2 separate regions of the Homo sapiens genome follow, and region 1 is linked to region 2. The links are contacts of gene promoters, found by promoter capture Hi-C in human tissues and cell types (Jung and others, 2019). All regions are on one chromosome and are shown on one strand. The core of a region is centred on a gene start or on the middle of the fragment in contact, and the rest is flanking DNA. Distances in the headings are between cores, read along the strand shown. Region 1 has its middle 43 kb from the start of LYRM9. Region 2 holds the start of NOS2 (nitric oxide synthase 2).

What was found. The method cuts DNA at HindIII sites, captures the fragments that hold promoters and counts their contacts. A contact is called where the count stands out against the background at its distance.
Region 1: a fragment that was not itself captured here is called in contact with the fragment with the promoter of NOS2 in region 2 in 1 of the 25 tissues and cell types used here (adrenal gland).

Annotation. Positions count from the first base shown.
Region 1 is chr17:27,847,885-27,853,286 of GRCh38, reverse strand. No RefSeq gene overlaps it. Among named protein-coding and RNA genes, the nearest start is that of LYRM9, 43 kb to the left of the region's middle. The HindIII fragment of the contact is 4,752 bases long and covers 1-4,092 here.
Region 2 is chr17:27,796,668-27,802,640 of GRCh38, reverse strand. It overlaps NOS2 (nitric oxide synthase 2), which reads left to right and starts at 2,112. Exons shown (of 27, transcript NM_000625.4): 1 at 2,112-2,302; 2 at 3,759-3,941. The coding sequence starts at 3,832. RefSeq lists a cis regulatory region at 1,575-1,597, an enhancer at 1,910-1,938 and promoters at 1-2,148, 1,907-2,199, 1,082-2,199, 1-2,279. The HindIII fragment of the contact is 5,928 bases long and covers 1-5,093 here.

The DNA of each region.
Region 1 (5,402 bases), core at 467-2,966, 51 kb before region 2:
GTTGAGGAATGTATAAACAAACTGTGGCACACCCAAACAATGAAATACTACCTAGCGGTAGAAAGAAATCGACCATGGATACACACAAAAACATGGGTTGTTTTCAAATGCCTTCCGCTAAGTGAAAGAAGCAAAAATACCTACAGAAGTAATAGGCTACATACTGTGTGATTCCATTTATTTGACATTCCAGAAAAGGCAAACCTAGAGGGGCAGAAAATAGATCAGTGGCACCAAATATACCTGAGATTAAAGTCAGCCACATGATCTCTTTGAATTTCTGTTTCTTGATCTATAAAATGGGAATAATTTTACCTACCTAAGGGAATTGTGAGCACTCAGTGCCAAAATATATAAAAAATCTAGAAAATTGTGCTCAGAAAATGTTAGTTTTCTCCCCTTTCCTTTCTGCCTCATCAGGCAGATCACTTCTACAGATGGCCAGTTTCATCTATGAAGTGTTCACTTGTATGGGTTTTCCTCTGACAGGGGAGCCTTATCTTTAGATTCTGGATGCACCTTGCTTGTCCTGTAGGTGCCGACTGCTGCCACTGGTGTATCTGCTGTGACTTGAGGGGTGATCTCAGCTTGAATCCAACCCAAGGCTCAGGCATGTCTGGAAAACCGATGGGATGGCTTTCCAGACCTGATTTGTATTAATGGTGGAACCTCCCCTCAGAGAACTCATTCTAAGCAAAGAAGGAGCCACGGTTGATGAATGGACAAGAAGGGGCCCTTCAGAATGACTGAGGCAGGGAAAGAGGGCAGCGACTCTGATGACCTCTCACTCAAATTCACACACCTACCCAGCTTCCGTGGACTGTTCAGGGATCCCCTCTCTTCCACTTTGCACCAGAAAGCCCTGCAGCTTTGCTATTTCAAGGGCCCCAGGGTCAGGATATGATGGAAGATGGTGGTATCTGGTGGCCATGGGGTGCTCTGTGCCAAGTCCCTAGAGAAACCAGGGTTCAGCAGGAGAGGACTCAAGCACAGGCATACATGAAATACCTCCAGGGAACTCACAGAAGTACGAGCATGTGGGACACAGCTCAGGGCATTTTGAGTTATTATTGTTAATGGGGAAGCCTCTGTGTCCCCAGTCTGGTGATGGTGGGGGTGTCCCCAGTCCTCCCTTTTCCTTCTGAGGATTGTCATGTAATGTCTACAGAAGGCTGTGATCCTTCCAGTGTGGCGAGGTGTTTGAAGATAAGCCCAGAGCATGTAGCATCTACTGAGGACACGCCATCCACACAACCCTGCTATGTTCTAACAGGAGGCTCTGACCCTGTCCCTGAGGAGCTTCCCTTATTTGGGGAGGTCAAACATACATAAAACAGCTTTGGAATAATTACAATATAATAATGAAATTTGCTGAGAGAATATATCTCCGGAAACACACACACACGGGTAACTATGTGAAGTGAGGGATGTGTTAATTAGCTTCATAGTGGTAATCATTTCACAATGTATACGTACATCAAAACATCACACCGTACATCTTAAATATGTACAACTTGTATTTGTCAAGTAAACCTCAATAAAGCTGGAAAAGATATCCAAGGTGGGGATAACACATTCTTTCTCGTATGGGGCACTATGGCAATAGACTCTAGGTTTAGGGGTGGCCTGCCCCTTGCTAACCCACATTATCTGCAATTATTTATCCCTGGCTACACACTAGAATCACCTGGGAGAGGGGCTTTAAGAGCTGATGCCAGGTCCCACCCAACACCAATTAAATCAGAATCTGTAAGTATAGCTTTGGTACTGATTTTTTTTTTAAAGTTCCTCAGTGATTTTTTTCTTACCTCTTATTTTCATTAGCATTTTCCAGATATTTAAGACAATAGATACTAAACAGGACACAGGCAGATTGAAGAACACTCAGCATTGTTAAACGGCTTTTGCTGTGCCACCTGCTAGTCAAAATCGGGCCCACTGATAGTTGATGCCACAGGGGTATTCTGAGGCCAGCCCACACTGGCACCCCTAGAGCAGATTGTTCAATATTCAGGAACTTTGCAAGCAGATTGTTAAACCATTGGTAGCTTGAAATCTCCCATAGTGAGAGTATTCACCATGGAAATCAATAAATGCTACAAATCAGGGCACCCCAGATCACAAGGTTAGGAGTTCGAGACCATCCTGACCAACATAGTGAAATCCTGTCTCTACTAAAAATACAAAAGTTAGTTGGGTGTGGTGGCACGTGCCTGTAATCTCAGCTACTCAGGAGGCTAAGGCAGGAGAATCGCTTGAACCCGAGAGGCAGAGGTTGTAGTGAGCTGAGATCACGCCACTGCACTCCAGCCTCAACGACAGTGCAAGACTCTGTCTCAAAAAACAAAACAAAACAACCAGGGTACCCCGTTCCCACCACAGCCAGTTTACCTGCACACAGCTGTCTGAGACAATATTTGTGATTTTGCCCATAGCAGTTCCTCCCAACCCCAACCTGCCAAACACCTCGCTTGGGCACACATCAAGCTGTGCTTTTACGGCCATGACACTGAGCCTATGGCAGGTGCACATGACTGAGGCCCCAGCATCACTCTCCTTCCACAGCTGTTTACCTGCAAGTGCTAACTTGCTAACTTGCTCTAGTCCTTGAAAGATACCTGGGGGGCTCTATTAAGAGAGTTTCCTTGATAACAGATATGCGCATTTACTTTGAGCATGATTCTTTTTTCAGGATTATTTAATATGTTTTTATATATATTACCCTATGTTTCCTCACAATGAGTGAGCAGAAGATGTATTGAGTACTTATATTGTAGATTCAGGTAGGGAAAAGACATATAAACAGAGAGACTGCCTTATGAGAGTCTCTAAGTTCCACCAATGAGGCTCACAGAGGTACAAAGAGTTCCATATTTCCAACAGAAAAATGACAAAGTCTGTGTTCTATTTTTTTTCTTTTTTTCTTTTCTTTTTTTTTTTCTGAGACAGGGTCTCACTCTGTCACCCAGCTTTGAGTGCAGTAGCATGACCTCGGTTCACTGCAACCCTCGCCTCTCAGGCTCAAGTGATCCTCTCACCTCAGCCTCCCGAGTAGCTGGGACTACAGGTGTGTGCCCCCACGCCTGGCTAATTTTTTATATTTTTGGTAGAGACAGGGTTTCGTCATGTTGCTCAGGCTGGTCTTGAACTCCTGAGCTCAGATGATCCACCTGCCCCAGCCTCCCAAAGTGCTGGGATTACAGGCATGAGTCACTGGCACCTGCCTCTATTGGTTTTCTTTTTCCGAGTAAGAAGAGCACTACTTGCCTGAGATCCGCATTTGAATGATGTCTCCAGTGAATAACCTTGTGATCTTGCCAACCTACTCGGCTTCTCAGTTCCCTCCACTGCAGTGTTGCAGAGACCAGGAGGATAATGAACCACAGCCACGGTTCTCAAGCTTTGGTGCACACACCATCACCTGGGGGGCTCCTGGAAAAAGACTGCTGGGTTCCAGCCCCAGGGTCTCTGATACAGTCGGTGTGAGGTGGAACCTGGTCATTTGCATGCCTAACAAGTTCCCAGGTGACGCTGCTGGCCCAGGGGCAACACTTTGAGAACCATTAAAACAATATTTAGACATAATAATAATTGCGTAATTCTTTGTCTCTTCTGTTGCCTTGACTGACAGATTAAGAAAGGGAAACAGCATTTATTGAGTATCAATAATTATGCAAGTCATCTCATTTTATTTAATACTTACCCTTAAAGTACTTATCACGTTATGGATGAGAACATTGAAGCTAAAAAAGTTAAATGACTTACCCAGAATTTTACAATGAGGAAATGGTGAATCTGGGATTCAAATACAAGTTTGTCCAACTCCGGAATCTATATTCTATTTGTTACACCTTGCTGCTTGCCAACAGTGTTTGGCCGTGGTAATTGCATAAGTTTAGGGGTTTAACTTTATTCTACTTCTTTCTATATGATAGTTTGTCTTCTACTTTGTCTTTCTATATTTTTTCCAGGTATTCTGTTTTACAGAGTTCAGTCCACTGGTCTAAAACAAGTTATTTGGGCTCTTCGAGCCTCATTTTCCTCAAATGTAAACTGAGGAAACATCCACCTTGCAGTGTTGTGGTGAGAGCTACAGACAATATGCATAAACCACCTGGCAATGTGCCCAGCCAGTGTTAGGCACATAACACTCAACAGCTGCTGTTATTCAATAGTCCCTTGCTCCCCTTCCTTAAACACCATCCCTGATTTCCAAATGAATCAGACAGTGTGTTCTTCTCTTGTGCTGCCACATTAACCAGAACTTATTCTGACCATGTGCTTGAATTGTCTCATCAGCATGTCCCCTACTGGCACCTATTGTATCGAAGAGCGTTGTGAATATTAAAAAAGAGAACATGTAAGATGCAATGAATCAGCCAGTCAACAAGCAAACATTGAGCACCTTGTATGTGCCAGGCATGGGGTTATAGTTGTGAAACAGAGAGTCCTGTTACAGAACTGAAGTGGGGTCCGCTTGCCTGGTGCAGTAAAGTCAAACATTCACACTGAGGTTTGCAGTGGAAGAAAGGAGGGTGTTAATTTTCAGGGAACCAAGTAAGCGGAATCAGGCAGCTCATGCTTAAGACCTGACCTCCCCGATGGCTTGCAAGTAAGGGGGTTTAAAGATGAGAAGGCAGAGGTTATAGGCAAACTCGTGAATCAATACACATAGACTACACATTGGTTTGATCTAAAAAGGTGGGACATCTCAAACCAGGGGCTTACAGGTCATAGGTAGATGCAAAGATTTTCTGATTTGCAGTTGGCTACGGAAGCAAAGCTTTGTCTAAAAATTTAGGATCAGCTGAAAAAAATGTTAGCCCTGGCTTTTTCGCATGGCTTCCTCCAGGATTCTCAGGAAGAACTTTAGAACTAAGAATGGCAGTCAGAATTCAGTCCTCAATTCCCCCTTATCTGAGGTCTATGCTCCAGTGGATCCATTTGGTGGGGGTTTCTGAAAAACAACTCAGGGACATATGTTAAGAAGTTATCTTTAGATTCTACAAGGAACATCTTGTGACTCTAACTTCCTTGGCTATGGTTTTAAGCTACTATTACCTTCTTGCTTATCAAGTTGCTCATTTACTTCTCAGAGCTAGCTAGGTGCCTGGAATTTCCCTTGAAGGAACTCAAGATTTTCCTTTATTTCCATGCTTTGGAGGGGGTGGGGAGGAGATCCCTGCAGGACCCTTAGAGGGGTCCTGCTCGGTCTCAATTCCTCCTGTCTTTTGTCACTTCTCAGTCCTGGGGGGTACAGGAACGCAGACGGCTGTGGCTACTTTCTGCTGAATGGGGACAAAGATTAGGGACCAGGAAATGAGGAGATAAATTTCTAGCATGTAGCTCAAGATATTCACGTGCCCCAGGCATGGCACCATGGTGCAGAATTATCATTATAT
Region 2 (5,973 bases), core at 863-3,362:
CCAACAAATAACTTAAGATGATTGAGGAGAAATTATATTTCCTTCCCAGCTGGCTAATTCCAAATGTGTCCTCAAGCCTGGTGCTTGGACTCAAACCCTGCCACAGGTCAAGAATGCCACACCAAGCAGACGCTGTGTTAGAGGGGCACCTGAGGTGACATGTTTGACAGATCACATAACTGAATAACTGCATTTTCTGAAGGAAAATCAACGAAGTGCTTTGAGGCCAAGTAGATGGGATTCTTGAGGATTCCATGAATAGCAAATAGTAGTATCCCCCTCAGAGGCTCTTGGGTGGGGGCATTAAATGTGTTAATACATGTGTTTGCTGCAGGTATAGCCAGAATATGTGAAAGCAGCTACAGGGAATAGAGTGTAGCAAACTCCTAATCATCCCTCAAAACCCTGCCCTGGTGTCCTCTCCCTTGTAAACTTTCCTTGAACAAGGCAGAACCAGCTACATCAGCACCATACCATCCCTCCATCACTACAGATATCACTCTGTACTATAATTATCCATTTATTTTTCTAGGCCTTGCACTCCCTAAGGCCAGGATTCTGACTCTTTCCCTGAGTGCTGTTTACCTGAACTGAACCGGCATGAACCACCACGCCCGGCCATCTTGTCACTTTCTAAAATGCATTGCTCTTCGTGGCAGATGCTCCATAAGCCAGAGCTCTAAGCCGCAGCATTGAGCCGCAGCATTGAGCTGAAGCCTGAAGGGAAGATGGCTTTGATATGTTAAAACTCATTCCAGTTTACTCCTATTTTTCATTCATTCATCCACACATTCACTCAACAAAGATCCTTGAGCTCTGATATCCATGTCTTTTTTGTGGCTCTTAGTTTATCTTTGACAAAGTTAATATATTATGCTGAATTTAACTTGGGAAAGACAAGAAGGAAATGAGTGGACAGTGGTAGCAAAGTGTTGGGACGGTGAGATCAAGGGTGACTTTTTTTCCCTTTGCTTCTCAACTTCTCCCTAATGTAGTTGTTATTTTACTTTTATGATGGAAAAATGCATATGTATGGGAATACTGTATTTCAGGCATTATAAGGAATGAAATTATAGGCCGGGCATGGTGGCTAACCCTTGTAATCCTAGCACTTTGAGAGGCTGAAGTGGGCAGATCACTTGAGCTTCAGAGTTCGAGACCAGCATGGACAACATGGTGAAACCCAGTCTCTACCAAAAACACAAAAATATTAGCTGGGTGTGGTGGTGCATGCCTGTAGTCCCAGCTACTCAGGAGGCTGAGGTGGGAGGATCGCTTGAGCCTGGGAGGCAGAAGTTGCAATGAGCAGAGATCGTGCCACTCCGCTCCAGTCTTGGTGACAGAATGAGACTCCATCTCAAAAATAAATAAATAAATAAAATAAATGAAATGAAATTATAAGAAATTACCACTTTTTCATGTAAGAAGTGATCATTTCCATTATAAGGGAAGGAATTTAATCCTACCTGCCATTCCACCAAAGCTTACCTAGTGCTAAAGGATGAGGTGTTAGTAAGACCAACATCTCAGAGGCCTCTCTGTGCCAATAGCCTTCCTTCCTTTCCCTTCCAAAAACCTCAAGTGACTAGTTCAGAGGCCTGTCTGGAATAATGGCATCATCTAATATCACTGGCCTTCTGGAACCTGGGCATTTTCCAGTGTGTTCCATACTGTCAATATTCCCCCAGCTTCCTGGACTCCTGTCACAAGCTGGAAAAGTGAGAGGATGGACAGGGATTAACCAGAGAGCTCCCTGCTGAGGAAAAAATCTCCCAGATGCTGAAAGTGAGGCCATGTGGCTTGGCCAAATAAAACCTGGCTCCGTGGTGCCTCTATCTTAGCAGCCACCCTGCTGATGAACTGCCACCTTGGACTTGGGACCAGAAAGAGGTGGGTTGGGTGAAGAGGCACCACACAGAGTGATGTAACAGCAAGATCAGGTCACCCACAGGCCCTGGCAGTCACAGTCATAAATTAGCTAACTGTACACAAGCTGGGGACACTCCCTTTGGAAACCAAAAAAAAAAAAAAAAAAAAGAGACCTTTATGCAAAAACAACTCTCTGGATGGCATGGGGTGAGTATAAATACTTCTTGGCTGCCAGTGTGTTCATAACTTTGTAGCGAGTCGAAAACTGAGGCTCCGGCCGCAGAGAACTCAGCCTCATTCCTGCTTTAAAATCTCTCGGCCACCTTTGATGAGGGGACTGGGCAGTTCTAGACAGTCCCGAAGTTCTCAAGGCACAGGTCTCTTCCTGGTTTGACTGTCCTTACCCCGGGGAGGCAGTGCAGCCAGCTGCAAGGTGAGTTGCCTTCATTTCTGGGGAAGCGGCTGTTTTGAGAGGGTTTTGTTTCTTCCTCTTTGAGAAGGCTCAGAAAATTGTGGGAATTTTCTGCCTACAGAGAGAAGGTGTTGGAAAGTCTAGGTAAAAAAATGCCGACATGAGGTTTGGTCATTTGAACATGGCATCTTGGTCAGATTTCTTTTCTGCAAATATTAGCTGTGGTTGTTACATGACAAGGAAAAACTTTCTGAAAAGTTCAAAATGGGAGTTTGTATCTGCTAAGAATTTTTTTTAACAGAGATTATCTTATCAGTCCTTATAACATGTAACCTCCCCACAAATCCTGGTAAGATGGATATATTAAACCCATTTTATGGATGAATAAATGAGTTTCAGTTAAATAACTTGATCCAGGACACATAACTGGTAGAGCTAGGATTCCAGGATTTGAACCCAGGTCTATGGGGCTATAAGTTCTTTTCTTTCTTTCCCTCTTTCCTTCCTTTCCTTCCTGTCCTTTCCTCCCTTCCCCTCCCTTCCCTTCCCTTTCTTTCTTTTTTTTTTTTGGAAACAGCCTTGACTGCCCAGCCTCAAGCAATCCTTCTGCCTCAGCCTCCCGAGTAGCTGGGACTACAGGCACAAGACACCATGCCTGCCTGGCTAATTTTTCAATTTTTTGTAGTCAAGGTCTCCCTATGTTGCCCAGGCTGAACTCGAACTCTTGGACTCAAGCGATCCTCCTGCCTCGGTCTCCCGAAATGCTGGGATTACAGGCGTGAGCCACTGCACTTGGCCTAAAATTCTTACATGGACTATATTCACTACACTGTCTTCTAAAGACAGAGTTTTTGCCTCTTTGATCTTCCTCTTGTCTGTTTCAAAGGAGATGATCTCAGATTTCGAGGGATGAGTGCATTTTTCACAAATATTTCCTCCCCACATAATAAAAGAGGAGCAAGTAATAATGCTGAGTTAGAACAACAACTGCAAAATCTTTAAAAGAAAGGTAGCTACAGCTTGAGTGCTTTCCCCAGTAATAGACCTAAAACTACAGTTGATAATGAGAGCTGCTGGGAAGTGTCTTTCAGGGTCAGGCAAAGGCACCCCTGTTTCAACGACCTCCGGGCTCTTCCTCACCCTGCCTGTGGCCAGTGATGAAGCCTGGCTGGGTCTGGTGGGCCAGCAGGTCCCGCTAAGGAGGCTCATGGTGCATACAGTTTGTCCTTGTTAAGTGGCGATGGGGATGGGGGGGTTCATTGTTTTTCCTTAAGATTATTAGGTGGCTTTACAGAATTGAAGTCTGTGTCCGAAGGCTCCCCATTCCAACCCCGAAATAGAGACAGAGGTTGCAAAGCATTGATGAAGGGGCTCATGCTGGCGTTCATATCGATTCCCCAGTGAGCCAACCCCACTGAGAAGCCCTGTTCTGTAAACTCTTCTTCAACCTTCCCTCACCTCTGCTTCCCTTCTTCAGCCCCACAGTGAAGAACATCTGAGCTCAAATCCAGATAAGTGACATAAGTGACCTGCTTTGTAAAGCCATAGAGATGGCCTGTCCTTGGAAATTTCTGTTCAAGACCAAATTCCACCAGTATGCAATGAATGGGGAAAAAGACATCAACAACAATGTGGAGAAAGCCCCCTGTGCCACCTCCAGGTGAGTTTTCCCTGGGGGAACCTCCTGCTTGTCTCCTTGGGCACCCATGCCCTGTCGGCACCGATGACTCAGAATTCCTCTCTCTGCTCCTCCTCTCTCACCTGAGGTCTGATCTCCTCATTGCTTCTTGAAAGTCCCTGTTGGAATTCAATGCAGCCGCTGATTATTGGGCACCTCGCTGTGCCTGACGGTATGTGAAGAAGGAAGGGACATGGTGCGGGGCTGGCCCTGAAGAAGCTTGGAATCTTTGGGGAAGAATATGGGAAGGAGCTTGGCCTGAGAATGGGAGGCAGTAGAGCCTCGTGGTGGGCACCATGGCGGAGGGGTGGGGGTGGAGGGTCAGCATCCTGGCCTGCGTCCATTCCAATTCACCGCTTGCTAGATGCTTTGAATATCATCCTGGTGAAGGGCATCAGGATGTTAGACAAACTAGTTCCAAGCCCTGTGCTGGCCGCACTAGTTGCCGGGTGCTGCCTCTAGCCAGCTGTGTGACGCAGGGTAAGTTAACCTCTCTGAAACTTAGTGCTCACCTGTGGTATGAGGAACCCAAGGGGGCCCTCACCATAGTGTGCTGAGGATGAAATGAGATCTACAGCACTCAGCACTGTGCCCACACAGAACAGACACTTAGTCCACATCAGGGTTCATCACCATCTACTGAGTACCTGCCCTTGCCAGAGCTACACAGGCCACTTGACAGACTTTGCATCTCAACTGATCTCTGTGGCGGCTCTTTGAAGTTCATATGATTGACTCATTTCACAGATAAGGAAATAGAAGCTCTAATAGGATTATGACTTCCCCCAGCCTGAATGACCGGTAATTACAGAGTTTACAGAGTTGGAACTTGAGCCCAGATTTGGATTCTTCATGTCCCTCCTCCCCGGGCCCATCCTTCCTCCCAGGGCAGAACCAAGAGAATGAGTCAGTTAATGAACAAGTCAAGGGACAGGCTTGAGGCTCGCTCAGGTGGAAAGACAAAGCAATCTGCAATAACGCAATAGTGCAACTGAAACCAAAGCCCCCATCTACACAAGACCACCACATAGCCACACAACCCCACCGCCCCAGAGGAGCCTTTCCCATGGACTACAAAGGGTAGGGCGCCCCCTGGATGTGTACAGCATGACGGCCCTGAGTGTATCTGTCAGAGGCGGCAAAAAATGCCAGTGGCTAAGAGGATGGGCTTGGGGATGAGCAAGTGGCTTTGCCACTCAGTAGCCCTGTAACCTTTGGCAAGTCCCCTAGCCTCTGAGCCTCAATTTCCTCCTCTATAAGAAGAGGGTAACAATGGTGATTTCCTGGAGTTGGAGGAAGGAGTAAATGAGCTTTCCCATGTGAGCAACTTAGCACAGGGCCTGGCCTGGAGTAAGTGCTCAGCAAATGGCACTGTTGGCATTGCTATCATTAGCGGTGGTGTTGGCAGTTAGGAGGTGATGGAGCAAAATTGAACAGAGTTCCCTCTAGGGGCTTCACAGAAGTCAGGTGGACTCTGTGGCCTTTGAAGTATGGGTAGAATGTAGACAGGTGCAGAGGAGTAGCAAGGACATTCAGGAAGAGGGGAGAGGTGAGCAGAGGCTCAGAGGCAGAAATGAGCCTGACTGTGCTTGGCCAGGAGTGGGCTGGGGGCTGGGATAGGCAAAGCCAGGCCAGAGCACAAGGGCTTGAATGCAGGGTAGGAGATTTGGACTCGCTCTCCCTGGCAGTAGGGAGCCATTGTAGGTTCTTGAGCAGGACAGTCTAGCTGTGGTGTGGTAGGTGAATTGGAGGAGAGGACTTTGAAACCAGGCAGTCTGGGCTATGGCAACTGAGGTGGCTAAGAGACCAAGAGGTGAGAACACAGAGTTGATGGCCTCTAGATGTCCAGATTCTAAGGGCTGTAGAGGGGCAGTGGCTTCGCCCCTTCCTTCTCTTCATCTCATCATTGCAGCCGCTGCCAGCTGACCTCCCTGACTCCAGCTCCCCACACTGGCTCTGAGCTCTCTCTTGCCAACTGGACTTCTAGCAAGTCACGCCCCTATTCTAGAGCCTG